3 separate regions of the Homo sapiens genome follow, and regions 1 and 2 are each linked to region 3. Evidence: promoter capture Hi-C in 16 types of primary human blood cells and fetal thymus (Javierre and others, 2016). All regions are on one chromosome and are shown on one strand. The core of a region is centred on a gene start or on the middle of the fragment in contact, and the rest is flanking DNA. Distances in the headings are between cores, read along the strand shown. Region 1 overlaps LOC124902370 (a long non-coding RNA gene). Region 2 overlaps PRKCQ (protein kinase C theta). Region 3 holds the start of IL15RA (interleukin 15 receptor subunit alpha).

Region 1 (3,391 bases), core at 385-2,884, 420 kb after region 3:
GTGCTCCCTGCCTAGCCTGGAGCTATTGCTGCGCTCTTGGCAACATCCACCCGGCTGAGCCCAGCAGCCCTTGCCCTGGAGACAGAAATTGCCCCCTTTTTTTTTTCCTTCTTTTTATTTTTTTTTGGCACAGGGTGTGTTGAGACAGGTTGAATAGCCACCCTGGAGTTTTGCCAGAGCCACAAGATGAGGAAGGTCAAGAGGCAGAAGAGAGCAGGGTGAGGAGATGGGGGTGGAGGAGAGGAAGTTTGACATCATGTGGCTTGAATGGCTCAAAATGCTGAAATGCCAGCATTAGTTCAAGCAATTTAGACTTTCAGGAAGCCTGGCCTTTCCCCCTAGAGTCGTTTGTTTAGTCCTGTCTGGTGGGCTTGGCTGGCGGATTCCACAAACTCATGATGAAAAAGTTCTCCAGGCAGAACAGAGATGTGGCCTCCATTCCTACAGGGTAGACAATCAATTCCAAGGGCCCAGCATCTCCTATGAACCCAAGGTCACTCAGATCAAGTCCCCAGGGTGGCAAATGTCTGGCATCAATCGGGGGTTGGGGGGGCGGACACTGAGTTTAGTTCAAGGAAGTATTGCCAGATTTTGTGTGTTCTTCTGTGCCACTGATGGATTTGAATGAATTTGAACATGCTGCACGGTTTGACGCACGTCAGAACTGAAAGAGAAGGCAGAGTCCAGGTGAAGAGCAGGAACGTGGCCAGATTGCCCAAGTTAGAATGGGGCTCTGTTACTAGCCAGCTGGAGATGTCGGCTGCTGACTTGGTGTTCTCTACCTGAGTTTCCTCATTCAACACTGAATCCCCCGGCTCTGCCCTTCTTTCATCTGTAGCCCCAGTACCTTTTAGCAAACTATGTAATTTACTTGTTTGCTATGTTTGTGATTTACTGTCTGTCTTCCTCATCTCCTGCTCTGAAAGGACAGACATCTTGCTTGTTGTGTTTTGATGCATTCCAAGATTCTGGAAGACTTGGAAGACAGCAGGTGGTCCATACACATTTGTTGAATGTGAGTAGTCACAGTACCAACCTCGCTGTGTTGTTATGCAGGTGAGATGACTTAATACTGTCATATACGCAGGGCAGTCCCAGCCCTGAGCAGTGTGCCCTGAACTATATTTCAACACACAGCGAGAGCTGGATCTCTCGAGCAATCCCACGTCCCGTGTCTCGGCAGGCCCAGGACAGTTCTGCTTTTAACCTGTTTCCTGGAGTAATTGCTAACAGTGCTTCCTTTCAGAAAAAAAAAAAAAAAGGCTCATTTTAGCTAGTAAATTATATGGTTTGGCTACATGTAAGTGTTTTTACTCATTCATTTAAGAAACTGAAAAAAAAAAAAAAAATCTGCCAGCTGGCATGCACCTACAGTCCTGGGTGCTCGGCAGGCTGAGGTGGGACGATGCTTGAGCCCAGGGGTTCAAATCTAGCCTGGGCGACATAGAAAGACCCCACTTCTACAAAAAGCAGAAGAAAGAAAGAAAAAATATTGAATGGGTACCATGTTAGATGCTAAGAACAACGACCATAGTTCGTTCCCTTTTAGAGCTTACTGTCTTCTGGAGAACTTGCAAAATTAAATAATTCAAATTTAAAACTGTTGGAACTTTATTCTGAGCCTTGAGAGAAATGGACTGAGTCACATAGCATGCCGTTGCAACTTCTGCTTTTTCCCGTAAACGATTAGGAATGACCGAGTAGCACCAGAAATAAGACCCTCTGAGTGGTGACCCCTCAGAACATTACTCTTGTCCTCACAGAACATTACAGCCATCTTCCATGGAATGGAGCAAGCCACCCTAATCAAATCGCTATGACATGTATCTAGCCTTGCACGGAAAACATTGCAACCTGCCGAAACCATCTCTACCTATGTAAGCACAGCCTTAGCTTCCCCACTTTAGAGCATGTCCCTTTGGGGTCTGTGTTTTCCGGGTGACCGTTCTCAAGCTCTGTACTCAAATAAACCCCATACTTCATCATATTTTCTGTATCACCTTATTTAAGGTCAACAAACTTTAAGGACATAATTAAGTAGACAACCTCATGACTTGAACACATGGTTAATAGTAATAATTGGATTGACATCCATATAGTTCTCCTCTGTTTTAGGAGAGGGCTGGTTTTTTTTTTTTAAATATTGATCCATTTTCGTGCTTTGTATAGTAACCCAATGAGGTAGAAGTGATTACCGCCACCCTTTTACTGATTACAACACCTGGGGTTCTGAGCGCCAGCCACTTGGTGAGGATTGCGGGGCCAGGGCACTCTGGTCCCAAAGCTCTGATTCCCACGGGCTTTCCTGCTGAGTCACGCTGTCTGCTGGGAGCTGTTGACCCGCCGTCTCTTTCTCTGACTTCCACCCGATAATTCTACATGGCTCTGCAATAAGCAGCTTTTTTCTTATTATTTCCTACAAATACATAGGTTACACTCTGATTAAAGGCAGAATACACATCTTGAATTAAGGGGAAGGCTGAAGCCTGGAATTCTTCCCATCTCTAATCCTGCCTGGTCACTGAAGTTCCTGAGTCCTCAGCTCAGGTCTGAGGCAGCCCTGCCCAGCAGGGACGGAAACTGCAGCTTTTTCATGTTCCTCTGCCTCCCTCTAGTGACTCAAGTCCAAAATAGTGCGGCTGGGAACTATTGGAAGAACACAGACGCTGCAAAGAAGCTGGAAACCATCATTCTCGGCAAACTAACACAAGAACAGAAAACCAAACACCGCATGTTCTCACTCATAAGTGGGAGTTGAACAATGAGAACGCATGGACGCAGGGAGGGGAACATCACACACCGGGGCCTGTTGGGGGATTGGGGACTAGGGGAGGGATAGCATTAGGAGAAATACCTAATGTTGATGGGTGCAGGAGACCACCATGGCACGTGCATACCTATGTAACAAAACTGCGTGTTCTGCACATCTACCCCAGAACTTAAACTATAATTTTAAAAAACCCCAAAAGAGTGCAATTTCAATGCCAAAAAAAAAAAAAAAAAAAAAAGCTGAGCTTCATCTATTCCTTCCGCTCTTTCCTCCCTCACGCCTACCATGTGTGAAGCACTGTACCCAACATGAAGGACACAGACAGAAAAGCCTGACTCCGCATCTCCCTGCTCGGGTTGCCTTGGCAACTTCTCCGTGTACCCAAAGAAGCAAAGGGGACTTAACAATTTCAAAGAAGAGTGGCAGTAACTACTTTTTCTGTTCCGAGCTTTCTTGTATAAAGTGAAGCACTGTGTGGCCTTTAAGAGTTCTATTAAGGGCCGGGCAGGGTGGCTCATGCCCGTAAATCCCAGCACTTGAGGTCAAGAGTTCGAGACCAGCCTGGCTAACATGGCAAAACCCCGTTTCTACTAAAAGTACAAAAATTAGCCAAGTGTGGTC
Region 2 (3,443 bases), core at 894-3,393, 450 kb after region 3:
TAGCGCGATCTCAGCTCACTGCGACCTCCGCCTCCCGAGTTCAAGCGATTCTCCTGCCTCAGCCTCCTGAGTAGCTGGGATTACAGACGCGTGCCACCATGCTCAGCTAATTTTTTGTATTTTTAGTAGACGGGGTTTCACCATGTTGGTCAGGCTGGTCTCAAACTCCTGACCTCATGATCTGCCTGCCTGGGTCTCCCAAAGTGCTGGGATTACAGGCGTGAACCACCGCACCTGGCCAGGTCTCTCACCTATTAAATAGGGATATTAATAAGCAATTTCAGAGGACACCTGAAAGAATAGAAGGAAGTAACAAGTACTTCGCACACTCAGAAATACGAAGCAAATAGTAAGCTTGTTAGTCACCTGACATATTCATACAGATGACATTTATTAAAAACAAATGATGAGGCCTGTAATCCCAGCACTTTGGTAGAGTGAGGCAGGGGGATCATTTGAGTCCAGGAGTTCAAGACCAGCCTAGGAAACATAGGGAGACTCTGTCTCTAATTCAAAAAAATAAAAAATAAAACAAACAAAACCAAATGATGAATAGACCTTATTTTGGTCTAGTGGAGGGGATAAAAGTTGCGTTGGTTCCTGTTTCTAAGAGCCAACAGTCTTCACTTATTTGTCTCCTGGTAGGGGTCCTGTTGGGGTCTCTGGGTGTCAGGAGGATGCTGGGTGCTGGGGCAGGGGTATGTGGGAACCCAGAGTGAGGAGAGGACGACTGGAAGGAAAATGGGGTAGAGCTGCCCCCAGGCCTGCAGCGAGTGGAATCCACGAGTGTCTGTGTTTTGGAAAGTGTTGCTCACTGACCTTTTAACTTTGCAGGATTTTGATTCAGATTTAGAACCAGAAAGCGCTCTAGTGAGGACTTTAGATAGCGTCTTCACCAACCCCATTGCTCTAGTGAGAAGGGACTTTAGATAGCGTCTTCACCGACCCCATCACTCTAGTGAGACGGGACTTTAGACAGCATCTTCACCTCCATTACTTGGAGGCCCCAAAAGATGAAATGACTTGTTCAGGGCTTCACAGCAAATGCAAAGCAGAGCAGAGATCAGAACAGAACGGGCGGCTCCCTGCCCTCCACTGGCCCATCCAGGGCCTTAAAGGACCCTCTCCCTCCTTCAAGCAGGTGAATTTGGTAAACATGTGTGAGCATTTTCATTTGGAGCAAGGGGAGGACAAGTGTCGCCTTCTCACATAACTAGAGGTTTGTAGTCATGGTGCTATTTTCAGAACAAAGGGCCCGGACACCTGAATGGACACATCTGAAGATAGATGCCCATCCTTAAATGAGGTTACTCGTGTTCATTTTAGGGGAGTGTCTATTTAAAAAAAATCACAAGAGCTCCGTATAGTCAGGAAAATGTTCCAGCACACCTGCAGACTGTCAACAGTCTGCTTATATTAATTATTCTATTTTAAATATAATATCTAAAGTTATTTCCAGCCATGTGATGAGGTAGGCTAGTGACTCCGAATATTATGCAGACTTGCTTTTCTTACAATTGCCTTAATGTCATCTGACTTCCTCACCCTTTGTCTTACTCTACTCCTGCCTCAGCCTCCCAGGTAGCTGGGATTATAGGCCCCCGCCACCACGCCTGGCTAATTTTTGTATTTTTAGTAGAGACAGGGTTTCACCATATTGGCCAGGCTGGTCTCGAACTCCTGACCTTAGGTGATCTGCCCACATTGGCCTCCCAAAGTGCTGGGATTACAGGCGTGAGCCATCGTGCCCAGCCAATCCCCCAACTGTAAAACATCATCTCAATGCTAGCTACATTTTGAGGACTGACACAGCAGAAGCAAGTTCTTGTGGGGGGCAAGCGGGGAAGTAAACGATTAAGAGGACTCTTTTTTTTTTTTTATTCCATTTTTACACATCCACCTGTTTGCCATGAAGTCACAACATTTTATCAAAATATACACACAGCACAAATACCTTTAAAATGTATGGTTGGAATTCTAATTCAACTCAATTGACTGCTGCAAACAGCATGCATGGGCCATTGATCTTGAATGATGCCTACGGAGGGGCTTATGAGTCATGAAATCACCAGTCATGGCACGAGAAGGGGTTAAGGTTCTTTTCCCAGGAGACTTATGCACTTCATTTCTTTTCTTGTTATAGTGTGAGAATGGCAGTGAGTGACTGTGCCAATACTGGAGTCTGCTGAGAATGGGTGGATGGAAAGGTTTTTACTGGCAAGGGTGAAATGATACTATCTTTTCTATCTTGACAAGATAACAAGCGAAGGTGTCTAGCAAACCTTCCCTCTCACTTTCCACTTGTCCTCTTGACCATGGATTTCATGCCCAATCAGGATGAATGGATTTGTAGATCTCAAGTTACAAGCTATGTTTATTGTAAAGAATTCCCATAAAAACCTATCCAGGGCTGGCCCCCCAGCCATTTACACATCCACAGATAGGAATAGAATAAAACGGGTTAGTGATTACTTGTCTGCGGCTGAGTGAGATCCGCTACTAGACCAGGCAATGGGGCCGTTTCAGTCTTGAGACGTCTGTACTCCGTTTGCCCCTGATTCAACAAGCATTTCATTGATCAGCAGTTGGCGCCCAGGTGAAGAGCCATAATTTATTGCAGTATCAAGTCTTGAAACCTTTCCAAGTGCGGAGACCCATCTTTCAAGTAAATAACTATGGTTAGTAATGACCTAACTTCAGGAGCGTCTGTGAGACATGTCAGGAGACGAGACACACGGCATCGTCATTAGTGAAGTAGACTTGGTTTCTGCTACAGATAAAAGTCACATGGGGGCGAACGGGTCTCAGTCTTTATTGTTGAGTGTTTCTTTCTTTTTCCAAGTTGAAAAAGGAACCCAAGCAGTGTCTCTTGAACCAGTTCCCAGGGAGAAGGCAAATTCTTTCCTGTCTCTGGAGGGGCAAGATTCAGGATATCAGCCGCTCCATCCCGGGGTTCATGAAGGAAAAGTTCCTGAACATATTCTGGTCCATGCTGTTGATCAGTGCTCTGTCGGCAAATGACAGCCGGGGCTTCTCGTTTAAGAATTCTTTGTCGAAATTGCTGCAGTCAAATGGTGATTTCTTAGTCAGAGTTTAAGGGAAGAAAGAAAGAGAAGAAAAATCAGCCATTAAGTTCATGATCTTCACTTTTGTTATCTAGGCCGTGATCTGCGTATGGCAAAGTTGGTGTTTGCAGAGACACTAAATGGAGGCAATGCCTACAGATGACCATGCCCAGCTCTCATTGAACATGGCTGTGATCCTGTGTCCTCAGCTTAATAATAATATAAATTCATAAATTCACAGAAAGACTACGACTGTAGACATTCAAATGGGATCTAATGTTTCTAATGGTTTACATGAAGCAGGGTTGGCAACCTTTGAAAAAGTGATCCACCTGAATTTGACCTCTGCCTCTTCAGTTTTCATGGAACACAAGGTGG
Region 3 (3,636 bases), core at 696-3,195:
AAACAACGGCTGGGCAAGCTGGCTCACGCCTGTAATCCCAGCACTTTGGAAGGCCGAGGCGGGCAGATCACAAGGTCAGGAGTGATCACCATGTTGGATCAGCCTGACCAACATGATGAAACCCCGTCTCTATTAAAAACACAAAAGTTACTGGGCGTGGTGGCGATCGCCTGTAATCCCAGCTACTCAGGAGGCTGAGGCAGCAGAATCGCTTGAACCCAGGAGGCGGAGGTTGCAGTGAGCTGAGATCGCGCTACTGCACCCCAGCCGGGGTGACAGAGTGAGACTCCGTCTCAAAAAAGAAAACAAGAAAGAAAGAAAAAGAAAAAGAAAAAACATTGAGAGCTTTGGGAAGGGAAGGTAGCAACATCTTTCTAAGGTCAAAGGGCAAGGCTGTGCAGCTGATGAGATCAGAGATCTCACAGTGGTGCTCCCCTATCCACTCAGTCTTCAAGGAAGACACCTCCTCTCTGCTGGGCTTTGACTAAGGCTGCATTTCACTTTCATATTGTGTAATCCAGCTGCCCCAGTTGCCAGCTATGGGGTCCTGTGACACTGCTAGCCAACTGGGAGGAACCAACCGGTCACCAACTAACTCTGCTTCTCAGATGTGGGGGGAAATCCAAGCATCAGAGTCTCATGAAAACGAAACTTCAAGAAGCCTCGCAGAGCTGGGGTGGGGGTGGCAGAGGGTGGGGGGGCGTTCAGGCCACACCAGGCAGCAGCAACTGTGCGTGGAATGGCTTTGGCCAGGGCCTGGGCAGACTGGCCCGACTGGATGTAAATTATTCAGGGTCTCGCTTAAAAACACACACAGATCATGGCGTTACTAATTCCTATAGAGAGTCCATGGATGGCCTTCAGTGGGGCTTTGACCCCAAAATCATATGCACATTTTGTAACTATGTTCATTCATGCATTTTTCTGGGGGCCGGGGGTTCATAGCTTTCATCAGACCCTCCAAGAGCTCCCTGACTATAAAAAGATAAAGAAGCGCTGACAAGGATAGAGCTAGACCCTGCTACTGTTTTCCTCCTTCCTCTGGCTGCCGGGACAAAACCCCTAGGAATCGCTCATTCCGTCCTCCCTGCCGAGATCAGAGCTCCGCGACCCGCTTTCTTCTCGAATACACCAAGCGATCACAGATCTCTTCCCCCTTTTTCTGCGAGTGTAGACTCCAGGCTGGCCCCCACTCCCCACCCCCATCCGGTCCCGACCGCCTCTGCTGGTTTCCTGATCGCTTAAGAATTGGAAGTTGTTTCCAGGTCCCCAGGTGTGCAACTTGCCCGACGCGTTTCCCCCTGGGACACAGCTCCTCCCCACCCTCCCAGCTCCCACTGACATAATTTACTTTTGCCTGGGAGTCGGGAGGAGTAGTTTCTCCCGGACCCCTCCGAGGACCGCGTGCTATGCAACACCCGCCCTGCAGTCCAGGCGCCTGGGAGAAGCGCACTCGCCCGTGTCTCCAAACTGCTGGACGCCGCCGGCTCCGCGCTCCCGTGGCCAAAACGGGCTTCTCAGAACTGCTCCTGACCTCGGCCTCGGAGACCCCAGCCAGGCCGCCCGCTCCCTTACGTGGGTGACCCGGGCGCAGCGGCGGCGCTCTCCCTGCGACCCCGGCTCCCGGCACGTGTCCCTCCTGCCCGGCGCCGCGTCCCCTCCCCGGCCTGGGCCTGCGCGCACCGCGCTCCCGAGGGCACCGACGCCCCCGCACGGCCCGGGGAGATGGGGCGCCCGGTTCCCTCCAGCTCCACGTCCCGGCCCCCTTCCAAGTCCCGCCCGGGCGCCCCTGCTCCCAGCTCCCTACCCCGCGTCGCCGGCGGCCGGAGCAGCAGCAGCAGTAGCAGCGCCGGGAGACCGAGGGTCCGGCAGCCGCGCGCCCGCCGCGGGGCCATGGCGGCAGCTCCACAGGACACCGCTGGACTCCCCGGGCGAGCGCTGCCCAGGCCGGGGGGAGGTGGCGAGCGCTGCTCTGGGACCTGCCGCCCCGCCAGTCGCATTCGCTTTCGCTTTTGCTTTGGCCCCCGAGGGCTCGGAGAGGTGCAAAGCGGTGACAGATCCGTGACTCAGCGTCCCCACCCCTGCTGGGGAAGGAGCCCCGCCGGCCGCCGCGGCACCGCACAGCCACCCCTGTCCCCGGGACGCATGGGCCGTGCCCGGTGGGGACCCAGGACCTTACCCACGCAAGCCCGGGAGCCTCCCGGTCCTCCGCGCTCGTCGTGCTCTGGGACCTCCAGTGTGCACTCGGTCCGGTGTCCCCACTGCGAAGAGAGTGGGCAAAGTCATCGGAGAGCAGACTCTCTCCAGCCCTCTCTGCGGCTCGGATCCACTTGACCTCGCCCGGCGCTGGTCGCCTCCAGCTGCTCCGCCTTCGGCTTTCCTGGTCTCCCTCCGCGGCCCTGCGCTCGGTTGTGAGCGGCCGGCCTGGGTGAGTGCCCGCGGAGGTGTCGCCGCGGTGCGGAGGCGCGGGCACCTGCCTGGTGCGCTCTGGCCCGGGCGGAGCGCAGCCCCCGCCACCTGCTGGCTCCCGCGGCCCCCGGCGCCCGCTGGGGCCCCAGCTCCGCCACTTCGCCGAATTCCTGCTGCAGCTTTGCTCCCCTAGAAAATGCCTCATCTTAGAAGGAGAGGGGGCGGAGGGGGGAGAAGGGGGAGAGGAGCCACAGTGCTTCACCTCTGAGCCTCGCTTCCTTAGGTTCTTCCAGGCTGCCATCCTCCTCTTTGGCTGGTGGGTTTTTTTCTTTCTTGGGGTCTCAAGTGAAGCCTGAGAACCGGGTCTGTAAGCTCCCAAGTGCAGATTCTCAGGTCTAGCGGTGACATTGGACAGGACGAGACATCTCCAAGCCTCGGTCATTGCCTCTTAAAATCTCACAACGTGTTTATGAGGCTTTTGTGACATACTTGCAAATTCTCTTTGAAAACGAAATAATCTGTACAATAATCCCCCAAGACACAGGTTTACCTTTATAACAAACCTGCACTTATAACCCTGAACTTAAAAGTTAAATAAAAGAATTTAGGGCCGAGCGCGGTGGCCACTCCTGAAATCCAAGCACTTTCGGAGGCCAAGGCAGGTGGATCGCCTGAAGTCAGGAATTCGAGACTAGCCTGGCCAACATGGTGAAACCCCATCTCTACTAAAAATACCAAAATTAGCTGGGCATGGTGGCGGGCGCCTGTAATCCCAGCTATTCAGGAGGCTGAGGCAGGAGAATCACTTGAACCCAGGAGGCTGAGGTTGCAGTGAGCTGAGATCGCACCACTGCACTCCAGCCTGGGCAACACAGCCAGTTCCTGTCTCTTAAATTTAAAAAAAAAAAGTAGAAAGAATAATGAACCTACCATCCGGCAGTGACCACACAAGGTCCATTCTTTTTTTCTAAGCAGGAATAGCCACCCTTACTCCAACTGGGGAAATCCCACATTATTCAATTTCTCTCAATACTTAATAATAAATCTCAAGATGATAAGATCAAATTTAAAAATTAACAATATTCCTTAATATTCTCAAATATATTGAGGGTTTATTGAATGCAGGCTAAGCATAGCATGTATACAATAGAGCATTTTTTATTCTATGGACATTTATGAAGTAGAGATTTCTCCATTATTACAGACTCTTTGTAAAAGTTTTTAATG

What was found. Contacts are between HindIII fragments. The CHiCAGO score rates a contact against its expected background, and 5 or more counts as called.
Region 1: a fragment that was not itself captured here is called in contact with the fragment with the promoter of IL15RA in region 3 in 7 of 17 cell types (naive B cells, M1 macrophages, total B cells and 4 more); the score reaches 6.6 in naive B cells.
Region 2: a fragment that was not itself captured here is called in contact with the fragment with the promoter of IL15RA in region 3 in 1 of 17 cell types (non-activated CD4 T cells); the score reaches 5.5 in non-activated CD4 T cells.

Annotation. Positions count from the first base shown.
Region 1 is chr10:6,399,386-6,402,776 of GRCh38, forward strand. LOC124902370 (a long non-coding RNA gene) reads right to left here. Exons shown (of 2, transcript XR_007062044.1): 2 at 1-2,416. It also overlaps a transcript of PRKCQ not described here. Among named protein-coding and RNA genes, the nearest start is that of LINC02656, 51 kb to the left of the region's middle. The HindIII fragment of the contact is 5,114 bases long and covers 1-3,391 here.
Region 2 is chr10:6,425,282-6,428,724 of GRCh38, forward strand. PRKCQ (protein kinase C theta) reads right to left here. Exons shown (of 18, transcript NM_006257.5): 18 at 1,867-3,081. The coding sequence ends at 2,926. Among named protein-coding and RNA genes, the nearest start is that of LINC02656, 77 kb to the left of the region's middle. The HindIII fragment of the contact is 3,583 bases long and covers 353-3,443 here.
Region 3 is chr10:5,975,598-5,979,233 of GRCh38, forward strand. IL15RA (interleukin 15 receptor subunit alpha) reads right to left here and starts at 1,946. Exons shown (of 7, transcript NM_002189.4): 1 at 1,808-1,946. The coding sequence starts at 1,895. RefSeq lists enhancers at 200-469, 600-679 and silencers at 1,570-1,949, 2,040-2,709. The HindIII fragment of the contact is 10,589 bases long and covers 1-3,636 here.